Regions from separate parts of the Homo sapiens genome. Here all the other regions are linked to region 3. The links are contacts of gene promoters, found by promoter capture Hi-C in blood cells and fetal thymus (Javierre and others, 2016). All regions are on one chromosome and are shown on one strand. The core of a region is centred on a gene start or on the middle of the fragment in contact, and the rest is flanking DNA. Distances in the headings are between cores, read along the strand shown. Region 1 holds the start of MRPL12 (mitochondrial ribosomal protein L12). Region 2 overlaps NPLOC4 (NPL4 homolog, ubiquitin recognition factor). Region 3 holds the start of TEPSIN (TEPSIN adaptor related protein complex 4 accessory protein). Region 4 holds the start of FSCN2 (fascin actin-bundling protein 2, retinal).

Evidence for each region. Contacts are between HindIII fragments. The CHiCAGO score rates a contact against its expected background, and 5 or more counts as called.
Region 1: a contact is called between the fragment with the promoter of MRPL12 here and the fragment with the promoter of TEPSIN in region 3, in 1 of 17 cell types (non-activated CD4 T cells). The highest score is 5.4, in non-activated CD4 T cells.
Region 2: a fragment that was not itself captured here is called in contact with the fragment with the promoter of TEPSIN in region 3 in 1 of 17 cell types (monocytes); the score reaches 5.7 in monocytes.
Region 4: a contact is called between the fragment with the promoter of FSCN2 here and the fragment with the promoter of TEPSIN in region 3, in 1 of 17 cell types (endothelial precursors). The highest score is 6.4, in endothelial precursors.

The regions. Positions count from the first base shown.
Region 1 is chr17:81,701,917-81,704,616 of GRCh38, reverse strand. It overlaps MRPL12 (mitochondrial ribosomal protein L12), which reads right to left and starts at 1,250. Exons shown (of 5, transcript NM_002949.4): 1 at 1,042-1,250; 2 at 187-373. The coding sequence starts at 1,115. It overlaps HGS (hepatocyte growth factor-regulated tyrosine kinase substrate), which reads right to left. Exons shown (of 22, transcript NM_004712.5): 22 at 2,496-2,700. RefSeq lists a silencer at 883-1,262 and enhancers at 1,163-1,766, 1,753-1,822, 1,767-2,370. The HindIII fragment of the contact is 11,363 bases long and covers 1-2,002 here.
Region 2 is chr17:81,602,835-81,605,534 of GRCh38, reverse strand. It overlaps NPLOC4 (NPL4 homolog, ubiquitin recognition factor), which reads left to right. Exons shown (of 17, transcript NM_017921.4): 8 at 808-987. Among named protein-coding and RNA genes, the nearest start is that of NPLOC4, 33 kb to the left of the region's middle. The HindIII fragment of the contact is 5,992 bases long and covers 1-2,700 here.
Region 3 is chr17:81,237,572-81,240,312 of GRCh38, reverse strand. It overlaps TEPSIN (TEPSIN adaptor related protein complex 4 accessory protein), which reads left to right and starts at 1,258. Exons shown (of 13, transcript NM_001363764.2): 1 at 1,258-1,327. The coding sequence starts at 1,280. It overlaps NDUFAF8 (NADH:ubiquinone oxidoreductase complex assembly factor 8), which reads right to left and starts at 995. Exons shown (of 3, transcript NM_001086521.2): 1 at 866-995; 2 at 635-745. The coding sequence starts at 949. RefSeq lists enhancers at 429-508, 889-1,108, 1,352-1,934 and silencers at 769-918, 1,161-1,376, 1,479-1,568. The HindIII fragment of the contact is 7,335 bases long and covers 367-2,741 here.
Region 4 is chr17:81,526,934-81,529,633 of GRCh38, reverse strand. FSCN2 (fascin actin-bundling protein 2, retinal) reads right to left here and starts at 1,257. Exons shown (of 5, transcript NM_012418.4): 1 at 277-1,257. The coding sequence starts at 1,102. RefSeq lists enhancers at 283-808, 809-1,335. The HindIII fragment of the contact is 29,205 bases long and covers 1-2,700 here.

The sequences.
Region 1 (2,700 bases), core at 1-2,500, 460 kb before region 3:
CAGTGTCCACAGCTGGCCCTCACACCAGCCGGAACCTACTGAGGAGGGGCAACTAGCCTGGCATGGACCTTGCACCTGGACAAACACACTTTTGACAATTTACCAAACTCCCAAAATACACCAGGAACAAAACACAGGGGCCCTGAAACTTCCAGCCCCTGGGTCTGTGCCACCCTCTCACGATACCTTCAGGAGCTCGTTGAGGTCTGAGATTTCCAAGAGAGTGAGGCTGGCGATGTCCTGGACCAGCTGCTGTATCTTGGGGGGGTACTCCTTGGGGGCGTTATCCAGGGGTGCACCAGCGAGGGCCTCACACCTCTGATGGCCGCTGCTCCTCATATGTCGCACGGCACAGACACATGGCACCTGTCGCCTAGCCCCCACCCCCAATTAAAACAGACTTGTCAGTCCTGGAATGGAAGGGGCTGCAGAAACCAGAGGGGCAGGACAACTGGGGGACTGGTGGGTGCCATAAGCTCAGGCTGGTAATCACTAGGGCCGGAAATTACCTAGCTCCTTGGTCCCAGTCCAGGGTTCTCAGACCTCAAGGGGTCCGTATTGATAAGATTTGCAAGTTACTTTAAATTCTTCAAAGAGCCTTAGAAAGCCACGTGTTTATTTGCAGCCATACCACTCAAACCTCAAGTTTCTGGTTTGAATGAACTACATCAACCCAGCGGTGGCGAAACTATTACTTAGGTGCATCTTCCTGCGCAAAGCCTCCCAAAACATGGGGGCCCCTGGCCGCAAAACGCCGCACCCACGGATGGGCCTTTGCTGCGGAAAAGGCTGAGGCCAAGGGAGGAGCAGGGAATCGTCCAAGGTCATCTGGGGCCGACCCCGGCGCTTTCCACGGCCCAGGAGGGAAGGGGCGTGCGCACCGGGAGGCCTCCTCCCCGCGCCCCCGATGGGACCCCCAAGCCCGGCCTGGCCGCTGCAGGGAGGCCGGCCCCGCCGCCCTCCTCGCCCGGATCGACCCCTCAGTGCCCGGCTGCCCCCTAACCCGCCTGCCGGCCCGGACCGCCCCAGGATCCCGCGTACCTGGCAAGGCGGAACGCAGCGGCCCGAAGCCCAAGGCAAGGCCCCCACAGGGGGCGAGCGGCCGCCGGCAGCATCGGTCCGCGGGCTGGAAGGTCACACGCGGTTCCCCGGGAGGAGGCGACGCTCTAGCCGCCTCGGCCGCCGGGCATTCGAGCTGGGGAGGAACGCTCTAGCCGCCACGGCTGCCGGGCATTCGAGCCGGAAATGACGCTCTAGCCGTACCTCGCGCTAGCCTCGTCTCACCCTGAGATTACCCACAAGGCGGCGCGCTGCGCAGACGCAAAAGCGTCGTCTGTGGCGGCAGCTAGACATCGGGCGACCCTCGTCCCGCCAGGTTTTGGGGTCGCGCAAACGAGCGACGGGGGCTGGGGCTCCGGATTCAGGTGTTCTTTCTTCAGCGCTCACGGGTTTCTGTCCGTACGCGATGCGAGCGAACGTCGCGGTCGAGGCTAGGGCCCCGAAGCCCGCAGTAATCCACGTCTCCCGCCCGCTCCGGGCCCCCAGTGCCGCCGTCGCGGGCGGAGGCGCGAGGTCTGGGCTTTGGCGCCTTCGCAGCCGCAGGCGACATCCTCTTTCCTAGCTAAAGCCCCAAACGCCCAGGTGGCTTCCTGGGAGAGCACGGCTGAGCCTCCGCCTTCAGATCAGAACAGGCAGAGCCTCCAAGGGCGGCTTGGGCCCAGTGCCTGCTTATCCTGCCCGTCTCTCCACACTTCTTCTTTCCCTGTCCGTTGGAGTCCATTCCTTCCTGGAAAAGCCAAAGCCGCGCTCCCCTAAGAGGCCTGGATGTGAAGGTGAGTGAGACGCCCTGGCCTCTGGGTGCAAAGGCCGGCGCCTGCCGCTTTCAACACTCAGGAGGCGCGTTTCAGCCCCGCTGGCCCCCGGCCGCAGACTCGGAGCGCTGAGCTCCCACCGTTCCCATCACCCGACTCCCTTCCCAGGAATGAGGAGCACCCGGGAAGCTTCAGCCACTACACGAAGGAGGCGCCAAGCCCAAACTCCTCCCCAGCTACCGGCGGGGTCAGTGCAGAGCCGCGGAGGGCACACATGAACCCTGGCACGCAGCCTCAGGGAGGGGCAGGCTGGAAATGACCCTGCCTGCAGCTGGGCCATCAGCCTGACCACCTGCCCCCTGAGCAAACGTTGATGCAGGTCGGGCGCGGTGGCTCATGCCTGTAATCCCAGCACTTTAGGAGCCCGAGGCAGGTGGATCACCTGAGGTTAGGCGTTCACGACCAGCCTGGCCAACATGGTGAAACACCGTCGCTACTAAAAATACAAAAACTAGCCAGGCATGGTAATGGGGTGCACCTGTAGTCCAGCTACTCGGGAGGCTGAGGCCCGAGAATCGCTTGAACCCAGGAGGCGGAGCTTGCAGTGAGCGGAGATCACCACTCCAGCCTGGGTGACAGAGTGAGACTCCATCTCAAAAAAATTAATTAAAGAAAAAACGCTGATGCTTTCTGAAATACATTTTATTATCGCTGTACCATTCTGGGGCACTGGAGATGGCAGCTGAGAAGCAGAGAAGCTGGAGACCTGAAGCCTCCACCCTTGGCTGTGGCTGCCGAGAGAGGCCCCTGCAGAGGGAGCCCCAGGCCACACCCAGACACCACAGCCAGCTCACAGTGCGGCCAGAGGGCACAGGCTGCTTGGGGGGTG
Region 2 (2,700 bases), core at 179-2,678, 370 kb before region 3:
CTGGGATTACAGGCATGAGCCACCATGCCTGGCTAATTTTTGTATTTTTAGTAGAGACAGGGTTTCACTGTATTGAATAATTTTTGAGGTTTAACTCCTGGACTCAAGAGATCCGCCTGCCTCACCTCCCATAGTGCTGGGATTACAGGCATGAGCCACCGTGCCTGACTGGTTTTTTTCTTAAGTAATGTTTATTGTTTTTATTTTTAAATAGAATAGCAGATTATTATTATTATTATTTATTTTTTTTTTTTGAGATGGAGTTTTGCTCTGTCGCCCAGGCTGGAGTGCAGTGGCGCCATCTCAGCTCACTGCGAGCTCCACCTCCCGGGTTCACGCCATTCTCCTGCCTCAGCCTCCCGAGTAACTGAGACTACAGGCGCCCGCCACCACGCCTGGCTCTGGCTAATTTTTTGTATTTTTATAAAATACAAAAAAAATAGAGACGGGATTTCATCATGTTGGTCAGGATGGTCTTGATCTCCTGACCTCATGATCCGCCCGCCTTGGCCTCCCAAAGTGCTGGGATTACAGGCGTGAGCCACTGCGCCCAGCCCAGATGTTTATTTTTTAAGATACAAGGGGTCTCACTCTGTCACCCAGGCTGGACTTGAACTCCTGGGCTTAAGCGATCCTCTAGCCTCGGCCTCCTGAGTATCTGGGACCACAGGCATGCACCATCACACCCTATTGGTTTGTTTTTTAAAGAACTAGGTAAAAGATATTTATGAATGGTTTGTGTTAGAAAAACAAGTGATTTCTTTTTGATGGCATGTTTTCATCAGCCCACTCTTGTTAACTCTACAGAAGTACAGGCATGTGGACAATATCATGTTTGAGAATCACACCGTCGCTGACCGCTTTCTTGACTTCTGGAGAAAGACAGGGAACCAGCATTTTGGGTACTTATACGGACGGTACACGGAGCACAAAGACATTCCCCTTGGCATCAGGGCTGAAGTGGCTGCGATTTATGAGCCACCTCAGGTAAACATGACGGGATTCAAGTTCCTGAGTTTCTGTGTTTGGAGGCTGTGGGGGACGCCCTTTCGGAGAGGCCTTGCCCTGTTCGCTTTGTTGTTTGTTCCCCCTTTGTCACACACCGGTGCACGTGCACAACATTTTCTGAGTTATTGGAGAGTGAGATCATGGCTCCTAAAACCTTCAGTGTATGTTACTAAGGATAAGGATATTTTCTTACACAACCGGTACATTTGCCACTATTGATCCAGTGTTTTTATCTCGTCTGCTGTGTCCAGGTTTGCTCATTGACTCTGTAGTGTCCAGGTGCTCAGTCCTTGTGTCATTCTGTGTCTCTTCCACCATGCAGCAGTCACTGTCTTAGGAACCATGGAGAAGGCCACAGACACACCTCAGCACCAATCACCAGAGTGTCACCAGAGTAACAAAAACTGCCACCAAAATAGGACTGATAACAATTTAAGATTTGTTTGGAGGGGAAAGAAGTGTCCTGAGGGTATATCCCGCAGGGTGTGTGCACATCTAGTCACTGTGCTTGGAAGTCATTGGAAGGCCCTCTCGGTATGATTATGCCACCAACTAGTTACACATTGTATTTCTGGTTTTTGGGAATTGGGCTGTGTGTGTATATTTATATAAATTTCAATTTGTTTTGTAATTATGTATAATGATGTAGTGTATTTTACATACATTTTATTGCAAAAGTAAAAAAGTAAGCAAATATTGAATGCTAGTTAATGATATGCATGCTGTACTATTTAGGGAGAAGTACATTTATGTCTGTAATACACTTGAAATCCAATAGAAAAATAAAATGAATTGATGGGTGACTAGAGGGACAGATAGTGCATAGGAAATGTTCATGGTGAATCTAGTGGTGGGTATATGAGTATTCACTGTAAAATTCTTTAAATTAGCTGTATGTTAGAAATTTTTAATTTTTATTTATTTATTTTTTAGAGATGAGTCTTGCTCTGTTGCCCAGACTGGAGTGCAGTTGTGCAGTCATAGCTTACTGCATCCTTGACCTCCTGGGCTCAAGCGATCCTCCTGCCTCAGCCTTCTGAGTAGCTGGGACTACAGGTGCATGCCACCATGCCAAGCTAGTTTTTAAATTTTTGGTAGAGTCAGGGTCTCGCTATATTGCCCAGGTTGGTCTTGAACTACTGGCCTCAAGTGACCCTCACATCTTGGCCTCCTGAAGTGTTGAGATTACAGGTAGGAGCCACTGTGCCCAGCCAGAAATATTTTTAAAAGTTAGAAAAGAAAAAAAAAGTGCACATTTCCAAAGTCATGTTTACAAACAAGGTATATTCATTTCCTTTTACCCTGCTTTCCTTTATAGGTAGCCCCTAGAATTTAAAACCTTTTTCTTTTTGAGACAGCGTCTCACTCTGTTGCTCAGGCTGGAGTGCAGTACTGCCATCATGGCTCAATGCAGCCTCAATTGCAGCCCTCTTGGGCTCAAGCAATCCTCCTGCCTCAGCCTCCCAAGTGTCTGGGACTACAGGCGTGCACCACCATGTCTGACTTTTATATGTGTGTGTGTGTGTGTGTGTGTGTGTGTGTGTGTATTTGTGTATATATATGTGTGTATATATATGTGTGTGTATATATATATGTGTGTGTGTATATATACATATATATGTATGTATGTGTATATACATATATAGTGTGTGTGGAGACAGATCTCGCCATGTTACCCAGGCTTGTCTGGAA
Region 3 (2,741 bases), core at 9-2,508:
ACTCTTGTTCAAATACCCTTTCTCTGGTCCAAATCTCCGGATTAACAGCTCCCAGTAAACAGAGTCAGCACTGGCATCAAGGCCTACCCAGATACACTGAGGTGGTACCCGGTGCGGCTGACACTTAGGGAACCAGCCTCAGAATGACTTAAAGCCCCACGGGCAAGAAGCCCTATCGTGCCAGTTGTGAGGGTGGCTGGGGGTTCCCCGCAGGACACGTGCTGAAGGAATCCACCACTGCAGGTGCACAGGGGCTGCAAGTGCCAGGGAGGTGAAGACCCGGAAGGTGCTGGGCACTTTCCGGGAGTCCTGTGTTGGGTCAATCCTGGCATGACACCCCCCGGCGGCAGTGCTAACACGAAAGCTTACGCGTTTTACAAGGCGCTTTTTTGCACACATCTCCCATCCTTTCTGAGGTTGGTGCCAGTCCCGCTTTACAAACATGCAGGGACAAGCCCAGGACGGCCGAGGTTTCGCGGGCTCGTCGATGGCTCGGTGATTTTGTCAGCCGGCGTCTAAAGCACGCGGCAGGCGCTCAAACCTTGAACCAACGGGAAAGCAAAGGAAAGCCGGGGCCCGCTGGCTCTTGGAGGGGAAGGGCTGGGAAGGGGGGAAGGGGCCCGCGCCCACCTACCGCAGCGGCGAAGCAGCTCCGCAGGGCCTCGAACTCCCGCGCGCAGAAGTCCTTACTCAGGCGGCCGCCCGGGGCCGTGGAGGCCTGCACGCACCTGCCGTACGCCGCGGCCTGCGGAAAGGACGGGCGTGGGTCGTGGGGTCCCCTGACCCCGTCACCGTCCTCCCTCCCAGCCACCTCCCCGCGCGGCTCCTCCTGCCCCGCAGCACTGGCCCGCCCGCGGCTCCTCACCTCGGCCCCGCAGGCGGCCAGCCGCTCGGGGAAGGCGCGGAGGCGGCTTCGCACGCGGCCCCACACCGCTCCGTTAGCCGACATGAGCGGCTATTCCCAGCCCCCTGGAGGCCGCCATCTTAGGTCCGTCCTCTTCCGGTGTCAAACAGCTTGATAGGTCGGCGCTTCCGCCCATAACCTTTCCTGAACTTCTTAATTGGCCAGGCTTTGCCTGGCCTCGAGCCCCCGCAATTGGCTCTTGTCCTAGTCTGTCTGTGCTCTGGGACTTCGGATTGGCCTAGGCTCCAATTGTTTACGAAGCCAACCTCAGGGCCCGCCCTACCGTGAGGGATTGGCCGGCGGACCCAGACCCGCGCAGTGATTGGAGGGCCCGGGCCTGGCGGAAGCGGGGCAGACCGGGAGGGGACCTGGATCATGGCTGCCGCGCCGCCGCTACGGGACCGCCTGAGCTTTCTACACCGGGTGAGTGAGGGCGGTCCGCCCGGGCCCCGGTCCCACGGCTCCTCTCGAGCGCCGCATTCCCCGGACTCGCCCCGGGCCGGAGCCATTGACCTTGCGTCTCCGCGCCGGGTAGCTGCTCCTGGCCCCTTCGCCCGCGCCGACGCCCCTGAGCTGCCCGCCCGCCGCGCCGTCCCGGGGCCTTCCAAGCCGGGCCTTCCAAGCCGGACCCGCCGAGCGCAAGGGCGATGGGCACAGCCAGACCCTGGGGGAACGAACAGGCCTCGGCCAGCATTCAGTGGCCTCCGACGGGAGGGAAGGAGCGGCGGACCCGGTGGACGTGGAGCCGCTGTGTCCGTGCTGCTGGCGCCCAGGTGGGCTGGCAGCCCGCCGTCCTCCCTGACGGTGGCGTTTCAGAGGACTCCGGTCCTGGAGAGGCACCCCTGGGTTGCAGAGAACACAGACGTCTCGAAGGGACAGAGAAGGACGCACCATTGTAAGCCCCTCTTAGTAAACCCTCTGAGAAGTAGAGGCCGGGGCGAGTTCCCAGGTGTCGTCCTGAGCAAACTGCCCTCTTTTGTCAGCCCTGAGCTTTCCTGGGCTGGACCTCAGAGGGGGCTGGGTGGTCCCAGGGCGCGACCTTGGGCTGCCAGAAGCCACGCTAGGGTTGGTCAAGGCTCTCAGTGCAAGGTTTCGACATAGTCGTTCTGTGCTGCGTTCTGCAGTTGTCAGCTGTCACCTGCAAACCTCAGCAGCTCCCCTTAGGGCGTGGTGGGCAAACAGTGTCAGTGATGCGTGTCCACAGCCTCGGGAAACACTTCAGGTCCACGTTTTCGTATGTTGTCACTAGATCTCGGCCCTTCCGACCGAAAGGCTTCGGCACCTCACGCGGTGGGTCCCATGCTTGTCCTGTTAAATACTCTTGAACTCTATTCTGTCCTGATACTGAATAATGCAAGAATGGGTGGTTCCAGTTTTCATCCCTATAAACCGTACATCTTTGTGCCAGTAAGTAAGCATGAAACAAATAAGTACGTCTGCGCTAAGCGAACGTAAAACACACGACATCAGTCGGTTCTCGGGGAGCGATGGAGCTAGTCACGCTGAGCGGCTGTCACTCTGCCATTCCGGCCTCTGGGGAGGTGGAACGATTCATAGTCCCCTGTGTGGAAAAGGGGCTTGCCTGGGCCTTGTTTGGCTTTGCTAGTCAGTAGGTAGGTACAGGAGAGGTACCTTCAAATAGCCTTACATGCTGGTAAGTGCAGGGAGGCTGGGGGCTGTGTCCCTTCTTAACCCAAGTGGCGCAGCTCCTCCGTGGAGAACCACCATTGATTTGCCTCTTCTCCGAGGCTGTTCATCCCTGACTGTTGAGAGAGGACCCTGCTGCAGCCTCCCTGTGGCCAGTAGCACAGTTCTCATCCCTTCCCAGTCCTCTCTC
Region 4 (2,700 bases), core at 8-2,507, 290 kb before region 3:
TGGCTGAGACATTCTCCAGCTATGCTGAGAAAGGCCAGGAACCCTTGCCTCTGACCCTGAAGCCACCACCCCTCAGTGGGGGTCGCCTGGGCATGGCCCGAGGCCCACCCACCTACACCCTGAGTGGCCACACATGTCCCACATGGACCCCCAGCCCAGAACAGACATGTGAACGCACAGACACGATACCACTCCCCGTGAGACCCCCACGGCCTCCTCCCTGAAGCAGGGGGGTCCCAGCACCCCTCAGGAGGTCGCCACCTGTGCCCTCCCTACCTTGCCGCACAGAGACGTAGCGGTGGTTGGCAGCCACCAGCACCACCTGTGGGTGACTCTCCTCCAGATCAAAGAGCTCATCCTTGCCAGGTCGCGTGTTTCGGCCGGCCTTGAGGGTGCCTGCGGGCCCCACGGGTGCCAGGTAGTGGCCGTCGCAGTCCTTGAAGGCCAGCTTGCCCGCCTTGAACTCCAGCGTGTAGCAGGCACGGGGCTCAGGCTCCCAGACCAGACGGCCGTCGCTGCGCAGGTAGCGGCTGTCACAGGACTTGAGGCAGTACCGTCGGCTCCGGAAGATGAGGGTGAGGAGGGCGTCCACGCCCCAGGGCTTGTCTCCGTCTGCGGCCATCTCGTCCTCCCGCGGGCACAGGTGCACGTAGCGCCGCCGGCTCACGCTCAGCAGGTGGGCCTGCGGGTGGATGGCCAGGTGCACGGTCCACAGCTCGGCCGGGGAAACGGCTGTGGCGAAGCAGGACAGCTGGTCCTCGGTGCCTCCGAAGAAGCGGCCGTGCGGCTCGGACCGCAGCACCCAGCGCCCATCTGGCTGCGGCAGGACCAGGAAGCGGCAGTCACGGCCCGGCTGCTCTGCCTCACAGGCCACGCGCCCGTCCTCTTCTGCCGACAGGTAGCGGCCCAGGTGGCTGCTGCGGAGCAGCACAGCCGTGCCTTGTCCTGGGTCGGGTTCCAGCACCCAGGTCTGCTTCCTCTTGAGGCTGGGTGCCGAGGCATTGACCTTGAAGCCGAAGCTCTCAGCTGTCAGGTAGCGGTCAGTGTCGTTGACGAGGCCAAACTGGATCTTCAGCACCTGGTGCAGGCCGTTCGTCGGCATCTTCAGGCTGGCCGGGTCCCCGGAGGGGCCTGGGATGCGCCCTCTGAGTGCTCACGGCCCCCGCGGTCCCCCAGAAGCCCGGGTCGGCTCGGCTGGCCCACAGCCCCCAGACCCAGCCGGCGTCACGAACCCCCTGCCTGCTCTGACCCGCCTCTGACCCGCGGCAGCAGCCTGGGCAGCTCTTAGAGGGCCCGCGGGCAGCAGAGGGCGGGCGGGGAGGGCGGATCAGAGACGTGCGGCTTAGGAGCAGCACCTTTCATTACCCTCAGCTTGGATTTCAGCCACTCCCGGATTGCACAGAGCCCAGAGCCCGAGGGCCTGAGGGCCTACGGGGCTGGAGGGCAGGGTTGATCCCCTTTTCCTCATAGCGTGGGCCCAGCGCCCCTCTTCACGGCCCTGCACCTTTTGGCCTCTCTCGTTCCTGCCCCCCTCCTCCAACCCCGTGTGGGCTCCCGGCCCGGCCCGGCCCAGCCCTTCCGGATGTAGAAGCCGTCCAGTGGAACGCTCACGGCTCGGCCGCAACCTGATCGCCGCCCGTACCCTCGGTGGCCGCCAGGCCCTCAGCTGGATCCAGTTACTGCTTCTCTGATTCCTGCTGCCAGAAGCATAGCAAGGACCCCAGCCACAACCTGCAGCCCAGGTCGCCTCCACCCCAGACCGGCCTCTGGCCACACTGCTCAGGCCCCAGAATGACGCACTGGACTGCCACCCACGCTGGAGGGTGGAACACAGTGGCCGTGCAGCCCTGCAGGCAGGGGGCAGAGTCAGAGGCCCTGGGCCAGGCTGGCCCGGCCCCAGCGCACTCCTGTGCGCTCTGAGCAAGTTGCTGGGCCCTGAGGCTGCCCCCTCCTCTGCTGTGAGCTGGAGTGAAGCCAGCCTCACTTCACTTTGGAGTCTTTACGGATGTGGATCCAGGAGGCTGGTGGGACGATGTCCACCCCATGCTCCCAGCGGTGGCCCTTGGAATCTGGGAGAGGATGAAGGCCAGCAGGCCGGGAGAGACTGGAAGTGGTCACACCTGTCTACAGCACCTCCTTGCTCTGGGCCACCTGGCTGTACCCCTTCCCCAGAGCCTGAGGGGCACTGGGCCCTGCTCACCGTGCCTGGCTCCTGCACCTGCCTCAGGGGCTTGGGGCCAAGTAGTGAAACCAGAGCTGGCCACCCTGGGCCAGGGCCAGCCCGGTGTCCTCTTCCTCATAACAGCGTGTGACCCTCCCGTCTCCCTGGGGACTGGGAACAGGGGCCACAGGCCCCTTCCGGTCATGGCCTGGAGTCACTCCCCTGTCCTCCTGGGCCCATCTCCTGAGTGGCCATCATGGGGGTCCCCGTAGGGCAGGAGTCTAGCCAAAAGCAAGGGGCCTGGGCTGGGCACCTGTGGGCTCCAGAGGTGGGCAGGGCCATGGTGGCAGAGTGTGCACAGACTCAGGGGCTCTTCCTCTGTCCTCTAAGCCCTGGACAGCAACCGTGCCAGGCACCTGCAGACACAGGGGAGGAAAAAGAGGAGACCTGTCCCCACTGTCCCCACGCTCAGGGGCCAGGGTGGGGGCAGAGAGACTCCCACATGCAAATACCCCCCAGGGCACAGCGTACGCCACGAC